Linked DNA regions of Homo sapiens: region 1 is linked to region 2. Evidence: promoter capture Hi-C in human tissues and cell types (Jung and others, 2019). All regions are on one chromosome and are shown on one strand. The core of a region is centred on a gene start or on the middle of the fragment in contact, and the rest is flanking DNA. Distances in the headings are between cores, read along the strand shown.

Region 1 (6,827 bases), core at 2,416-4,915, 570 kb before region 2:
CTAATTTTTTTCTTTAAAGCGTTTTTGCCCGATCCATTTTTTTCCGTTAGCTCCCTTGTCTAATTTTTTTCTGCAGTGCGTTTTTAATCTAATGCATTTTTTTCTGCCAAGTGCTTTTCTCCGATTTATTTTTCCTGCAATGCGCGTTTTTCTGTTTTCCTGTGAACTACTTTTTCTCTAATTCGTTGTAGGGTTTTTTTTTTTTGCGAAGTAATTTTTATTTTTTCTGAGAAGTGCCTTTTTCTAACTTATTTTTTGTTCCACCCCCGCAAGCGCTATATGTTTTTTTAAATAAAATTTCTCCGCAATGCGCAATTTTTTAAGGTGGAAAATTTTCACTCTGCGAGCTGTAAAGTCTTTCAACACAGTAGTGCCCCGCCTCCCTCCTGGGGTCGAGTCCGGGTGTAGCGGGTTTTTCTTACCGCGTAGGTCGCTAAATGCCTGGGTGATCGTCCGCAGCGGTCGCCCGCCGCGCCCCGAGTCTTTGTTCCCTGGCAGGCGCGGGCGCACTAGGGAGGGTCAGCGCGAGGAGGACGGCGCAGGGAATGGGCAGGGGGCGCGCGGTGCCGGCAGCGGCACTTGGGCAGGCAAGGATCGCGGCAATCGGAATAGGACGGGTCCGGGAAGCGGCAATCGCGACGCAGTCTTGCGGGTTCTAGGGGCGCGAGTTGGGAACCCTCTCCCACCCGAAACCCCGTCAGACTTACCTGCAGCAGCACGCGGAAGATGTACCAGCCGATGATGAGCAGTTCAGCCGAGGCCGCCGCCACTGCCGCCATGGTTCCAAGAATGGTAGGTGGGTGGTCGAGAAAGAGGGTTTGCCGAGATCCGCTGGTCTCGGAGTCCGCTGTTGGGCGCACTGCCGCAGCCGCGGTGGCCGCGCCTTAAGTACCCGCCCGCCACCTAAGTGCGCATGCGCGCCTTGGGGGGTGTTTATGAGGAGGGGTGGCTGGGGGCGCTCCTCATTCGCCAGGAGAGGAAAAAAATAATCCATCTGCTCTTTCCATACCGACCCCCGCCTCCTGAGTTCCATCTTAGCCCCCTTCCAGAAGATTCCGCCGTGCTTGCTTTTGGATTTTGCTTTAAAATGGAGGGGTACCACGACTCTGGGTAGAGTACAGGGCGAGAATGGGGGTGCAGGTCTCTTAGTGTGGCGCCCTTCTCCCCAGTCCCTGGCCTGCAAATTTGAGCTCAGTCTCCGGTGCCACTCCAAAGCCTACCTTGGGGATGGATGGAAAACCGAAATTAGGGAGGGGTCATCTGCCCCATAGAGCAAAAAACGTGGTGCCCCTTTCAGAAGCTTTGGCATAATAGGCCCGTGCTCGGCGCTCTTTTCCTGATACTGAATGAGTTTTAAGCCCAGGTCCTCTGCTTCATGAGGGTGCCTGAGCGCGTAACCCGTCTGATTCTTTACATCTCTCTTACGGTAGCGAGGAGATGAGAATCTGCGGTGGAGGTCGCTACTGTAGGGAGCTGAGCCAGAGCACTGCGCTTTGGGCGCAAAAGCAGTAGTCACCCGGTATCTGTAGGAGGGATACAGGAAGGATTGGCGCCCTTCGTATGCACGGAAGGAATGAGCTCTACGGAGAAGTGGTTGGAATATGCTTGGGGATAGTTTTCTGCTGGACAGGTCGTTTCGACCTCAGTCTTCCGCTCCCCTCCCCCAAGCCCTGGTAGGTCGGCCTTAGCCAGTGGGGTTCTTTGTACCCGTTGCGCTGTGCGGCTGGATCACCGAACGGGGTTACGCTACCGCTACCGGAGGGTTGTGGCTACCGCAGCCCCGTTTCCAAGTGAGGCGGGTCCCTTTTAGACCGCCAGTCTTGTGGGTCCCTCGCACAGCGCGGATTTTCGGGCGGGAAGACCGGAATGCGGTTTGTGAGTGTGGTCCCCGCGCACCGGTAGCCAGCCGAAAGCACCTCTTTCCAGCAAGCTGCCTGGCCCAGGGACCAACTGGCATTTGCCCCTATGTGGATAGAAAATTAATTTTCATTAAAAGCTCCCAGAGGTCAGGTTCTATACAGTGCCAGCAGCAGATGGAGGTGTAATGATCCAAACGAGTTCAGTTTGGACAAAGTAGCATAGTGACTTTTTTTCTACATTGACTTTCGGAGAAGTTGGCAGATTCTGGCAAAGTGACGCTGGGCTGTTTGAAAAAGGCAAGCTTAGCCTAGGCTGCCATCTTAAAATATTTCGAGGCTGTAGCTGCCTCAGGATCCTTTGCCTGTGGTCTGGTGGCCGGCAGTGCCCCGCTAACAGCTTTAACTCTGCACTTAGTGCCTGAGCACCTATGGCTGTGAGAGATGCTAGATACAGAACCCTGTCCTTACCACGTGGGGGCACAGCAGGGAGCCCTTGGTCGTCCTTTGGCAACCACTGGGCGGTATTGTGAGGTCTGGGCCCCTTGAGGACGGGCTGCAGCCCCAGGAGGCGATACATGATCTCTGCTGGGCAGGGCCCAGGCAAAGCCAGCCCACTGTGTGAAACCGTGCCAAAGAGCCCTCTCCCCGATCCCCCAGGAGAAGCCCCGGGGAGACATCCCAGGAAGCTTCCCGAATTAGTGACTTGGAGAGGAGTAGAACTTTCACGGGTGGGCAGGGAGGAAAGGGCATTTCACATTTGCTGTTGTTAACCATGATCCATTTTCCCAAATAAGTATACATTCTGTTCCTGTTTTTTTTTTTTTTTTCTTTTTTTTTTTTTTTTTTTGTCTGTCTGTCTGTTCTTTGTCTGTTTGTCTGTTGTGTTGACTTTTCTCTTCAGGATCCCTGCTGCCTTGGTGATCCCGGGCTGACAGCCAGAGAGCACAGCGGCTCAGCTCCTGGAGAGTGAGGGTTGAAGAAAGCGGAGGGCAGCCGCCTGCGCCCGCTGGCTCCCATTAGGTCGGTTCCTGCAGCGGTGCCCGGCAGCCTTGGTGAAGGCCCTGCCCGGCAGAGATCATGTATTGCCTCCAGTGGCTGCTGCCCGTCCTCCTCATCCCCAAGCCCCTCAACCCCGCCCTGTGGTTCAGCCACTCCATGTTCATGGGCTTCTACCTGCTCAGCTTCCTCCTGGAACGGAAGCCTTGCACAATTTGTGCCTTGGTTTTCCTGGCAGCCCTGTTCCTTATCTGCTATAGCTGCTGGGGAAACTGTTTCCTGTACCACTGCTCCGATTCCCCGCTTCCAGAATCGGCGCATGATCCCGGCGTTGTGGGCACCTAACGGCCTGCCCTGTTAGCTTTCCAAGGAAGCAGAAGACGGGAGGGGAGGCATTGACATAGGTCATAAAGCATTGGAGTTTCAAATCCCGCAGCCTCGCGGGTGTCACATTCCTGACGGCGCCTTTTTGGCCTGTGATGTTTTATCCTTACAATGTGAATAATGGCACTGACCGGTGCTTTTATTGTAAAGTCCTATAGTCGTGGGTGGTCTTGTGGTTGTGTGTGTTCTGTCCCCATCTAGGTCCTGGCTGGCCGCATGACCACCCCTCTCGCCTCATTACTGTGAGGAGTCTGGGTCCATCCTGGTCAGCTGCCCCAATGTGACCTGGGGCAGATAAAATGCCAGTCTCATTGTCACCTCTGTGACCCCTCCTTGTCAGGGTCTCCTTCCTTCCCAGAATGTTACTGACTCCTCAGTCCCTCTTCTGGTTTCCCTTTATTTCTCTTCTACCCTTTTCCTTTTTTGGGGAGTACCTGTCCAAGACAGGGCTCATTTTTGCACTTATCTCGAATTTGAAGAGATTGCTGACGCCCGAGAGCCTCGCTTTTTCATCCTTCTTTCCTTGTTCAGCAGGCTAGACAGAAACATGTCTTGACTGTTAGTTGTCCACAAATCTTCAGTATTTTCTCCACTTCATTTTTAAGAAAGGAAGCAACAGATAGATGTTGCTCTTTCACCTGGGTGTCTGGGCTCAAGCTTTCCCGCCCAGCCTCACTTCCTTTGCCCTTCCTCCTGCCTTTCTCAACTGTCCCAAGGAGGGGGCCTCATTGTGTCTCCCGTGCATGCTCTGCAGCATTGAAGTATGGTGTGTTCACGTAGTTCTAGCAGTCCCCAGCTGAGTGAGTGGGAGAGTACCTGTGTGTTTCGTAACGGCCTTGATCCCCTTGATAGATGTTTGGATATTTTTTGGTGTGCCCTGTGTGTGTGTGTGTACAAATACATGTGTATATTCCTTTTAAAGAAGCTTTATCGAACGTGGTCTGATTTTGAGGTTTAGCAATAGCTAGCTATATATGGTAGGTGCCGCTACAGTTTTTATTTAGCATGGGGATTGCAGAGTGACCAGCACACTGGACTCCGAGGTGGTTCAGACAAGACAGAGGGGAGCAGTGGCCATCATCCTCCCGCCAGGAGCTTCTTCGTTCCTGCGCATATAGACTGTACATTATGAAGAATACCCAGGAAGACTTTGTGACTGTCACTTGCTGCTTTTTCTGCGCTTCAGTAACAAGTGTTGGCAAACGAGACTTTCTCCTGGCCCCTGCCTGCTGGAGATCAGCATGCCTGTCCTTTCAGTCTGATCCATCCATCTCTCTCTTGCCTGAGGGGAAAGAGAGATGGGCCAGGCAGAGAACAGAACTGGAGGCAGTCCATCTAGGGAATGGGACTGTGAGGCCATACTTGTGAAACGTCTGGACTGCTATTCTAGAGCTTTTATTTGGTGTGTTCGTTGCACAGCTGTTTGAAATGTTTAATAAAGCTTTATAAACTTTACTTTGTGGTTTTATGTGGCTGCAGTCCATTTGGGTCGTGGTGTTGGATTTCGGAGTTGGTGGGGGGCAGGGGGAAGCATGGAGGGGCTGAGTCTTTGGCGCCAGAGTACCTTAGCCTGAAAATTTGATCTGCTTTCTGGAGAGCAGATGGTGGGGATGGGGGAGGGGGAGCAGGGGGCAGGACAGGCGGTGAACAGGAGGGAGTCTGAAAGTTTTCAGAGATGAGACATTTGCGTTTCTCAGCTCCCATGGCTTCTTGCCTGAAATTGTTTCCCTCCATAGGAGATTTGAGTAACCGATCCCTTGACAAACAACTTAAGACAGCTGGAGCTCTAATCATCAAGGATTTTTATGGTGCTGCTTTTGAAGTAAAAATAGTGAAACCCCTTATGGCATTTCAAGTGGAAAAATAAATAAGACTGGCTGTCCAACCAGCCGGATGTAAGGTGATGGCTGGAAGTGCCGAGAGTGGTGTGGTTCCATGTTGTAGGTATGCACGTGCTCCCATGGCCATGACCTTTGAGACAGTGTAGGCTAGTTTGTCAGGTCCTGTGCTGAGTATTCACCTCTGAATCTCCTTCTTCTAGAAAGCATGGTAGGAATACTGCCTGTCCAAGGCACAGGGCTGTCGTGAGGTTTTATTGAGTCACAGTCGTGAAGGGCTTTGGTAATTTCATAGAAGATCACCTGTTCTACCTAGGCTTTAAATTTGTTGCTATAAAATTGAGTATGGTTTTCTCCTGTTCACTTAAGTCTCCCCATTGTCACTTTATTCCTTTTTTCATTCAAAACTTGCCAAAGATTTGTCTATTTTAGAGGTATTTTCAAAGAACCAAACTTTTATCGATCATATCTGCTGGGTAATTTTCTTACCTGATTCTTTTATGCTTTTATCTCTGAATTCTTCTTTTCTGTGTTTCTGGATAGATTTCGTGGTTCTGCAAAGTCTTGACAAGCTGAGGAGTCATACCTGGAAAGGATGGTTTGTTCAACAAACATTGAGACCCTGTACTAGGCTTGCTGGGGATTTCAGGGGCAAGACTCAGACCTGACTCTTCAGGAGCTCATGATTGTAGCCTAGTGGGAAGACTTAACAAAATAGACAATTGCAAATTCCAAAAACAAAACAAACAAAAAAAAGGCTTTTGTGTCCCTACTCTCCTGTGGCGACACCTGGATGATAAATGAAGCCAAGATTATTGCTTATTTTGCTCTCCCTCGGAAAGCAGCTTTCTGTTTTAGGTCAAGCCCGCTTAAGAGTCACAAACAGGCCTCCCTCTGAAAGATTTGTGGCCCTTTCCAGCAGGGAGCCTGCAGCCCACCCCTTCCCAAAGTGACTGCCAAATCAGCATTCTGTCACCCCACAGTGCTTCCTACCTTGCCAGGCAACCACCCCCTCTTCCTGAACTGCCTTTTAGGAAAATGAAAAGTAGATACCTTTTCTGGAAAAGAGTAGGGGCAGCAGGCCTTAGAAAAACACACAATTACATTGGTCACTGTGGCTCAGTGTGAAACGGTTGCCCACATGGTACCTAGTGACCACAAGACACCATAAGGCCTAGGTCTGGGCTTCTTTAGGAACTGGTTCTTACCCTGCTGTGGGCCCCAGTTTCCAGAGAGGTAAAATGTGGTCTTTGGAGCAGACAGTTTTTCTAGTCCTAATATCCTGGGAGTTCTTTCTCCCAAGATCTAGGGTCTTCCTGGACCCATTTGAGGATGTTAGCTGGGCTCTGAGTAGGTGGCAGTGCACTTTCAGGATGGCATGGGCTTTATGCTTTAGTCAGTGTACCATGTGAGCCCAGGTATTTCCTCTGTCAGGAAGCTTCCCTGGATTTCTTCTCCCTGGGGATCTACTTGACTGGAGCGTTTCACTCAGCCTTCTGTTGAGTGCTACTGCTAGTGTTACGCAGACTTCCCCTTCTGTAGCGACTGAGTTCATGGGCTCCTCTTGTCTCCCAAGGGGGCCTGCATTGTCAGTCATTTGGCTGGTATTTGGCAGAATCCCATGCAGGAATAGGCCTTGAGACTACAGGGTGGACAGTTCCTGCCATTAGGGAGCCCTCCAGGCTAATGGGAAAGGGCACAACATTGAGCAGATAATGCCAGCGATACACAACCGTGGACTGTGTCAGCT
Region 2 (7,211 bases), core at 2,479-4,978:
CCCAGCTTGCCTGGCTGGGTGGAAGGTAAATAGATAAGGTCAGGGAAAGCTTGCTGGGCTTATTCAAGGTCATTGGGCAGTGGGCCTTAAATTAATTGATCTTATTGTTTTTTCTAGTCCTAACCATACTGAGATTGACTTTAGAAGAGGGCAGCTTGAGCAGTCATTTCTCTCACTATGGCCAGAGTCCAGGGCCTGTGTCCAGTGGGTGTTGGTTCCCAGGCTGTGGAATTATGATGGAAAAGGATCGTTAGGACTGTAAGAGGAGTTAAATGAAGTGGCAAACTGGAAAGAGCCTATACTTTGGAGCGAGGGAGCACTGCCTTTGAATCCTCTCTCTGTCCCTTACCAGCCATGTTGACCCTGAACAAGTAACTAATGACCTAGCGCAAGATCAAAGGCCCCTTGAAAGTAGGGAATTAGGGAAAATATAATAAGTATGGCAATAAATTATACTTTTTAACAAACAAAAACAGAAAATAAAAGTTCTGGATGGGTGCGGTGGCTCATGCCTGTAATCTGAGCACTTTGGGAGGCCAAGGCACTTGAGGTCAGGAGTTCACTGATCACTTGAGGTCAGGAGTTCAAAGCCAGCCTGGCCAACATGGTGAAACCCCGTCTCTACTAAAAATACAAAAAAATTAGTTGGGCGTCGTGGCGGGTGCCTATAATCCCAGCTACTCAGGAGGCTGAGGCAGGAGAATCGCTTGAACCCGGGAGGCAGAGGTTTGCAGTGAGCCCAGATTGCACCACTGCACTCCACCCTGGGCCACAGAGCAAGACTCTGTCTCAAAAAAAATTAAAATTAAAATTAAAATAAAAAAATGAAATTAAAAAACTAAAAATTCTTAAAAGCAGCTGCTTTGAACAAACACAGTTGATTAAACTAAAAACCCTGCTATAACACCTTCTATTGTCCAGGAAACCTTGATGTCAGGGCAGGTTTCCCCACAGGTCTTATAAACACAAGTTTTTAAATCAGCCATTTCTGACTTGAGATTAAGTCTTTCATACATATGCTATTTGTTTTCTTATCCCGTTTTGGTTTCGCAAGTCTTGGCAACTGTCAGGTCTTTTCACAAAGTTCTCTAGTGTTTGAGGGCATTTTTTTGGGGGGCCTGGCCTTGTGTGCAGATGGAAAACAACTCTTTTTTTTTTTTTTTTTTTGAGATAGAGTTTCACTTTTGTCTCCCAGGCTATGGCTCACTTCAACCTCCACCTCCCAGGTTCAAGCGATTCTCCTGCCTCAGCCTCCTGAGTAGCTGGGATTACAGGCGGCTGCCACCACGCCCGGCTAATTTTTTTTTTTTTTTTTTTGAGACGGAGTCTCGCTCTGTTGCCCAGGCTGGAGTGCAGTGGCGCGATCCAAGCTCACTGCAACCTCCGCCTCCCAGGTTCAAGCAATTCTCTGCCTCAGCCTCTCAAGTAGCTGGGATTACAGGTGCCTGCTACGATGCCCAGCTAATTGTTTTGTATTTTTAGTAGAGACGGGTTTCATCATGTTGGCCAGACTAGTCTTGAACTCCTGACCTTGTGATCCACCCGCCTCGGCCTCCCAAAGTGCTGGGATTACAGGTGACAGCTACTGCGCCTGGCCACCCAGCTAATTTTTGTAATTTTAGTAGAGACAGGGTTTTGCCATGTTGGCCAGGCTGGTCTCGAACTCCTGACCTCAGGTGATCCACCCGCCTCGGCCTCCCAAAGTGCTGGGATTACAGACGTGAGCCACTGCGCCTGGCAGGAACACCTTTATACTTTCCTCCATGGGTCTGCAGGAAAAGGGAGCCATTGAAAATTGTGGGTTAAATAATAGAAAATAGTTTTATATCAAAACCCCCTTTACTTATTTATTTATTTTTTATTATTATTATTTTTGAAACAGAGTCTTGCTCTGTTGCCCAGGCTGGAGTGCAACGGGAAGATCTTGGCTCACTGCAACCTACACCTCCCACATTTGAGTGATTCTCGTGCCCCCGCCTCCTGAGTAGCTGGGATTACAGGCATGCACCACCAGGCCTGGCTAATTTTTGTATTTTAGTAGAGATGGGGTTTCACCATGTTGGCCAGGTTGGCCTTGAACTCCTGGCCTCAAGTGAGTGCTCTGGCCTCCCAAAGTGCTGGGATTACAGGCATGAGCCACTGCACCCAGCCCCAAACCCCCTTTAACAAGCAGTGGTTGGCAAGTTATCAAGACCATGGACTTTGGAACCAAGTTACATCTCTTGGGTTTGAATACAGGCTTCATCATTTCCTAGCTGTAAGACCTTGGGCAGCTGGGTACGGCTGTGTAATCCCAGCACTTTGGGAGGCTGAGGTGTGGGAATCACCTGAGGTCAGGAGTTCAAGACCAGCCTGGCCAACATGGTGAAATCCTGTCTCTACTAAAAATACAAAAATTAGCCAGGTGTGGTGGCAGGCGCCTGTAGTCCCAGCTACTTGGGAGTCTGAGGCATGAGAATCACTTGAACCTGGGAGGCAGAGGTTGCAGTGAGCTGAGATCACGCCACTGCACTCCAGCTTGGGAAACAGAGCAAGACTCCGTCTCAAAAAAAAAAAAGAAGACCTGCGGCAAATTACTTTTTCCTACATCCTAAGGTAATTGTGATAATTAAGTGAAGTAATATGTGTAGAGCCCTTAGAACTTTACAATATTTGTAAAACCCTTAGAAGTTATAAAAATTATTTAATATTTAAATAATTTAATGAATGTACTTAATTCATTTAGTATTATGTATAAATATAAAATTATTTTATATTTGTAAAGCCCTTAGAACCGTGCCTGGCACACAGTAAAGCTCTGTTTGCAAATAATATTTTGGCTCACCAGTAGACCACTAGTTCATACTGCTTGATGATAAGCTATTCCGCCTCATTCGTCCTTGACCCCCTAAACAGGTCTATGCCTTGGTTGCTGGGAAGGTGTGTTGGCTTTATTAACAGTAATAGTGATATGTCCTTTTACCAGGCAATTGCATGGACCAGTATTTATAGGGAAGTTTGAGCCCTGCCGCAGAGGGGTTAAGTGATGGGAAAATGCCTGCCATTTTCACATGCTGTTACAACCAGGCAGTAAAAGTCCTCAGAAGTTAAATTTTAAGTAATCAGACTGGCCACTTTCCTTCCTCTGGGAATGCAGTTGGGATGGAGGGCTCTGTCTCTAGTTGGAAAGAAGTCTGAAGTCCCCTCCTGTGTGGACACCAGACAACAGGTATCCCAGGGCCCTCTAGTTGACCAGCAATACTGTGGAATGAAGACACCCTCAAGTCACATTTGAAATCATTCCGGGTTCTTCCAGTTCAGCACCTTGACTGTTTTCCTCTTCACTGGGAAGGTGCTGGCAGCCTGACGGCCTTTTAGGCTTCTTTTAAGTTTGGGGCATCTGAAACCCGGCCAAGGTGCGGCGGGTAGTGTACTCATTCGAAGGAGAATACCCCCAATTCACTAGACGAGCCCCTAATTGGGGGTGCGGTGCCGGGCGCGCTCTTTCCTCCCCCTTTCCACCAGCACTGCCCTCAGTTCTGCTTCTAGCCACGCCCTTTCGCGTTCACGTCCAGCGCCCTGGCGGGATTGATTTGAGGACGACTGGACTGCCATTGCGCCTGCGCAGGGAGCCCAAGGCAAGAGCCGCTAGGCTGCCCTGCCCGAAGGGCTCAACTGTCAGTGAGCCTGCGCAGGAGGCCAATAGGCTGCCAATACTCCTTGGACTCCCCGCCAGGGCCCTGCTGTCAGTGCGCCTGCGCGCGGGTCCGGCGCCGAGGTTCTTGACTGCTGTGCCGGACGCCAGGTGTAGCCATGCAGCGAGCCGATTCCGAGCAGCCCTCCAAGCGTCCCCGTTGCGATGACAGCCCGAGAACCCCCTCAAACACCCCTTCCGCAGAGGCAGACTGGTCCCCGGGCCTGGAACTCCATCCCGACTACAAGACATGGGGTCCGGAGCAGGTGTGCTCCTTCCTCAGGCGCGGTGGCTTTGAAGAGCCGGTGCTGCTGAAGAACATCCGAGGTAGCGGCTCCGGAGGGGCTGAGGGGCGAAGGGCGGCGACCTGGGGCGCGGGCCAGGCGCCCTGAGGGAGGGGGCCCCACGAGAGGACCGAGGCCGAGGAGCGAGCCCTGCGGCGGGAGGCACCCGGGAGGGCGGACCTGCGCTGGGGGCGCCGAGGAAAGGAAGACCCGAGGCGGGGGAGGGAGCCCTGCGGCGGGGGTTCCCAGGAGGGCCTGCGGCATGGGGCTCCCGGGACTGACTCCCCGAGGCGGAGGAAGAAGACATGGGGTCGCCTGGGATAGGCGATTCGTAGGATGGGAGCAGGCTCCCGGGATTGAGGACCTGGGAGGGGCAGTCGTAGATTGGGATCTCACTCTCGTGGGTTTCTTCACTAACTTGCCACCCCGGCGCGGGACAAGCGAGACTCGGGTCCCTTTTTTTTAGTTAGAAGGAGATTTTTCCCCAGACCTTGGTGGGCGGCTTGCTGTCATCCAGGCTCGCGGGACCCCTCCGCGCTAACCGCAGCTCCTTGAACACTTGCCACATCAGAGGATGTTCTGGGGCTTTTAGGTTTCGGTTTCCTCCCTGAATTGAGGCTTTTCCTGAAGGGGAAGGAACTGGCTTGGTTAATCTCTGAATTCCCATCACCTTCCTTGGCATCCCAGCAGCGCCCGATAGGCGTGTGTTGACTGCACTTGCAGAACATGGTAAGGAACATGTTTTGCTCTTTAAAAGCAGGTTCCCCTCCAAAATCTGAACCTTGGGGTTGTTCAGTTGACCACTGAATCCCCAGCATGCCACAGTTTGGCCACATCCCCTGGAGAAGTGTTTAGGTTGAGTTTTAATCATATTTTACTGATTCGTATCCAAGCATCCATCCTTGTGAATTCTACTCAACTTTTTGTGGTGGGTGTGAGATTTGACTCCTGCCTTATATCCTCTAGGTGTCCAATAGGAAGGTGATTCTTTGGTGGTTGGGATTTGCAAATTTAGTAAATTTTTGCATTTGTTAGGTGGGGCCCTGTTTGGCTAGGTTGGAAACTGGGGTAGGAGGAACATTAGTGGTTCAGGACCCAAAGATAGCTTGAATGGGTATGGGAAATTGCATTTCTCCTTTTTTTTTTTTCTTCCCCCTTTTGCCCTTTCGTTTCCCTCCACTGCTGGGATGGATTATTACTTTATTTTCTTTGACTAGCAACAAGTGGAGTGAAGTAGTTCCATATTTTCTGTCTCAAAATGTGGTTGGCTCTCTGTTTCAGTGGTTTGTAGATTAACTCGTTACCCTCCAGAATGATGTGTGTTCCTTAAACCTACAACCTATTGCTATCAAAGACACTATGTGCTTTCATTTGGTAAAAACTGACCAACTGTTCCCAATTGCTCATGTCTTAGCTTCTGCTTTGTCTTGACCAAACTTTATTCGGACTTCTCTCTTCCCTTATGGGCCCCTCAACTCTTGCTTACCCCCAGATCTGACCAGGCAGGCACTAAAGCAGTGGAATATGCCTCCCTCTGGTCAGTTTCTTTTGAGAACCGGCTGACCACAGTAGGATGCTGTCCTGTTGGGCTACACTGCTCATTTTCCCTTGCTCGTCCAGGTTCCTATCCAAAGATTCTGCTTATTTCTGCTTGCCCGTCCTTTATCATATAAAAGAAGACCCTTTTTCTGTTGGATTCTTTTTTTTTTTTTTTTTTTTTTTTGAGACAGAGTCTCGCTCTGTCGCCAGGCTGGAGTGCAGTGGCGCCATCTCGGCCCAGTGCAACCTCTAACTGCCTGGTTCAAGCTATTCTCCTGCCTCAGCCTCCCGAGTAGCTGGGATTACAGGCATGTGCCACCACGCCCAGCTAATTTTTTTGTATTTTTAGTAGAGATGGGGTTTCACCATGTTGGCCAGGATGGTCTCCATCTCCTGAACTCGTGATCCGCCTGCCTCAGCCTCCCAAAGTGCTGGGATTACAGGCGTGAGCCACCGCGCCCGGCCTCATTTTTTTTTTTTTTTTAATTAGAGACAGGGTTTTGCCATGTTGGCCAGGCTGGTCTCAAACTCTTGGCTTCGAGTGACCATCCACCCACCTCGGCCTCCTAAAGTGCTGGGATTACAAGTGTGAGCCACCATGCCCAACCTCTGTTTGGTTCTTGGGCCTCTGTTTGATTATTTTTTAAAATTTATTTTATTATTTTATTTTTTTTCTGAGATGGAGTCTCGCTCTGTCACGCAGGCTGAAGTGCACCGGCACAATCTCAGCTCACTGCAACCTCTGCCTCTCGGGTTCAAGTGGTTCTCCTGCCTCAGCCTCCCTAGTTGCTGGGATTACAGGTGCACGCCACCACGCCTGGCTAATTTTGTGTTTTTAGTAAAGACAGGGTTTCACCATGTTGGCCAGGCTGGTCTCCAACTCCTGTCCTCAGGTGATGCATCCGCCTCTGCCTCCCAAAGTGCTGGGATTACAGGCGTGAGCCACCGCGCCCGGCCGGCCTATGTGTTTGATTCCTGAGCCTCTTGCAGATATCTGATATTGGAGCTTTCTCCCTGTAGAAATAGTCTTTCTTCTTTTCTTTTCTTTTTTTCTTTTCTTTTTTTTTTTTTTTTGAGACAGAGTCTCGCTCTGTCGCCAGGCTGAAATGCAGTGGTGTGATCTCGGCTCACTGTAACCTCTGCCTCCCGGGTTCAAGCAATTCTCCTGCCTCAGCCTCCTGAGTAGCTGTGACTACAGGTGCCCACCACCACACCTGGCTAATTTTTGTATTTTTAGTAGAGATGGGGTTTCACCATGTTGGCCAGGATGGTCTTAATCTCTTGACCTGATGATTCACACGCCTTGGCCTCCCAAAGTGCTGGGATTACAGGTGTGAGCCACCACGCCCGACCAGCAATAGTCTTTCTTTCTAATAAAGTTTCTCTTGGCCGGGCACGGTGGCTCACGCCTGTAATCCCAGCACTTTGGAAGGCCGAAGCAGGTAGATCACCTGAGGTCAGGAATTCAAGCCCAGCCTGGCCAACATGGTGAAACACCGTCTCTACTAAAAATACAAAAATTAGCCGGGCATGGTGGTATGTGCCTGTAGTCCCAGCTACTTGGGAAGCTGAGGCAGGAGAATCACTTGAACCTGGGAGGCGGAGGTTGCAGTGAGCCAAGATCCCGCCACTGCACTCCAGCCTGGGCGACCGAGTGAGACTCCATCTCGGAAAAGAAAAAAAAAGTCTCTCTTTATCTAAGTCCATTTTTTTTT

What was found. The method cuts DNA at HindIII sites, captures the fragments that hold promoters and counts their contacts. A contact is called where the count stands out against the background at its distance.
Region 1: a contact is called between a fragment that was not itself captured here and the fragment with the promoter of SAMHD1 in region 2, in 2 of the 25 tissues and cell types used here (dorsolateral prefrontal cortex and spleen).

Annotation. Positions count from the first base shown.
Region 1 is chr20:37,515,284-37,522,110 of GRCh38, reverse strand. It overlaps BLCAP (BLCAP apoptosis inducing factor), which reads left to right. Exons shown (of 2, transcript NM_006698.4): 2 at 2,761-4,694. The coding sequence starts at 2,937. The coding sequence ends at 3,200. NNAT (neuronatin) reads right to left here and starts at 861. Exons shown (of 3, transcript NM_005386.4): 1 at 708-861. The coding sequence starts at 779. RefSeq lists enhancers at 1,789-2,652, 2,653-3,516. The HindIII fragment of the contact is 3,867 bases long and covers 1,732-5,598 here.
Region 2 is chr20:36,948,225-36,955,435 of GRCh38, reverse strand. It overlaps SAMHD1 (SAM and HD domain containing deoxynucleoside triphosphate triphosphohydrolase 1), which reads left to right and starts at 3,728. Exons shown (of 16, transcript NM_015474.4): 1 at 3,728-4,000. The coding sequence starts at 3,793. RefSeq lists a silencer at 4,014-4,233. The HindIII fragment of the contact is 37,170 bases long and covers 1-7,211 here.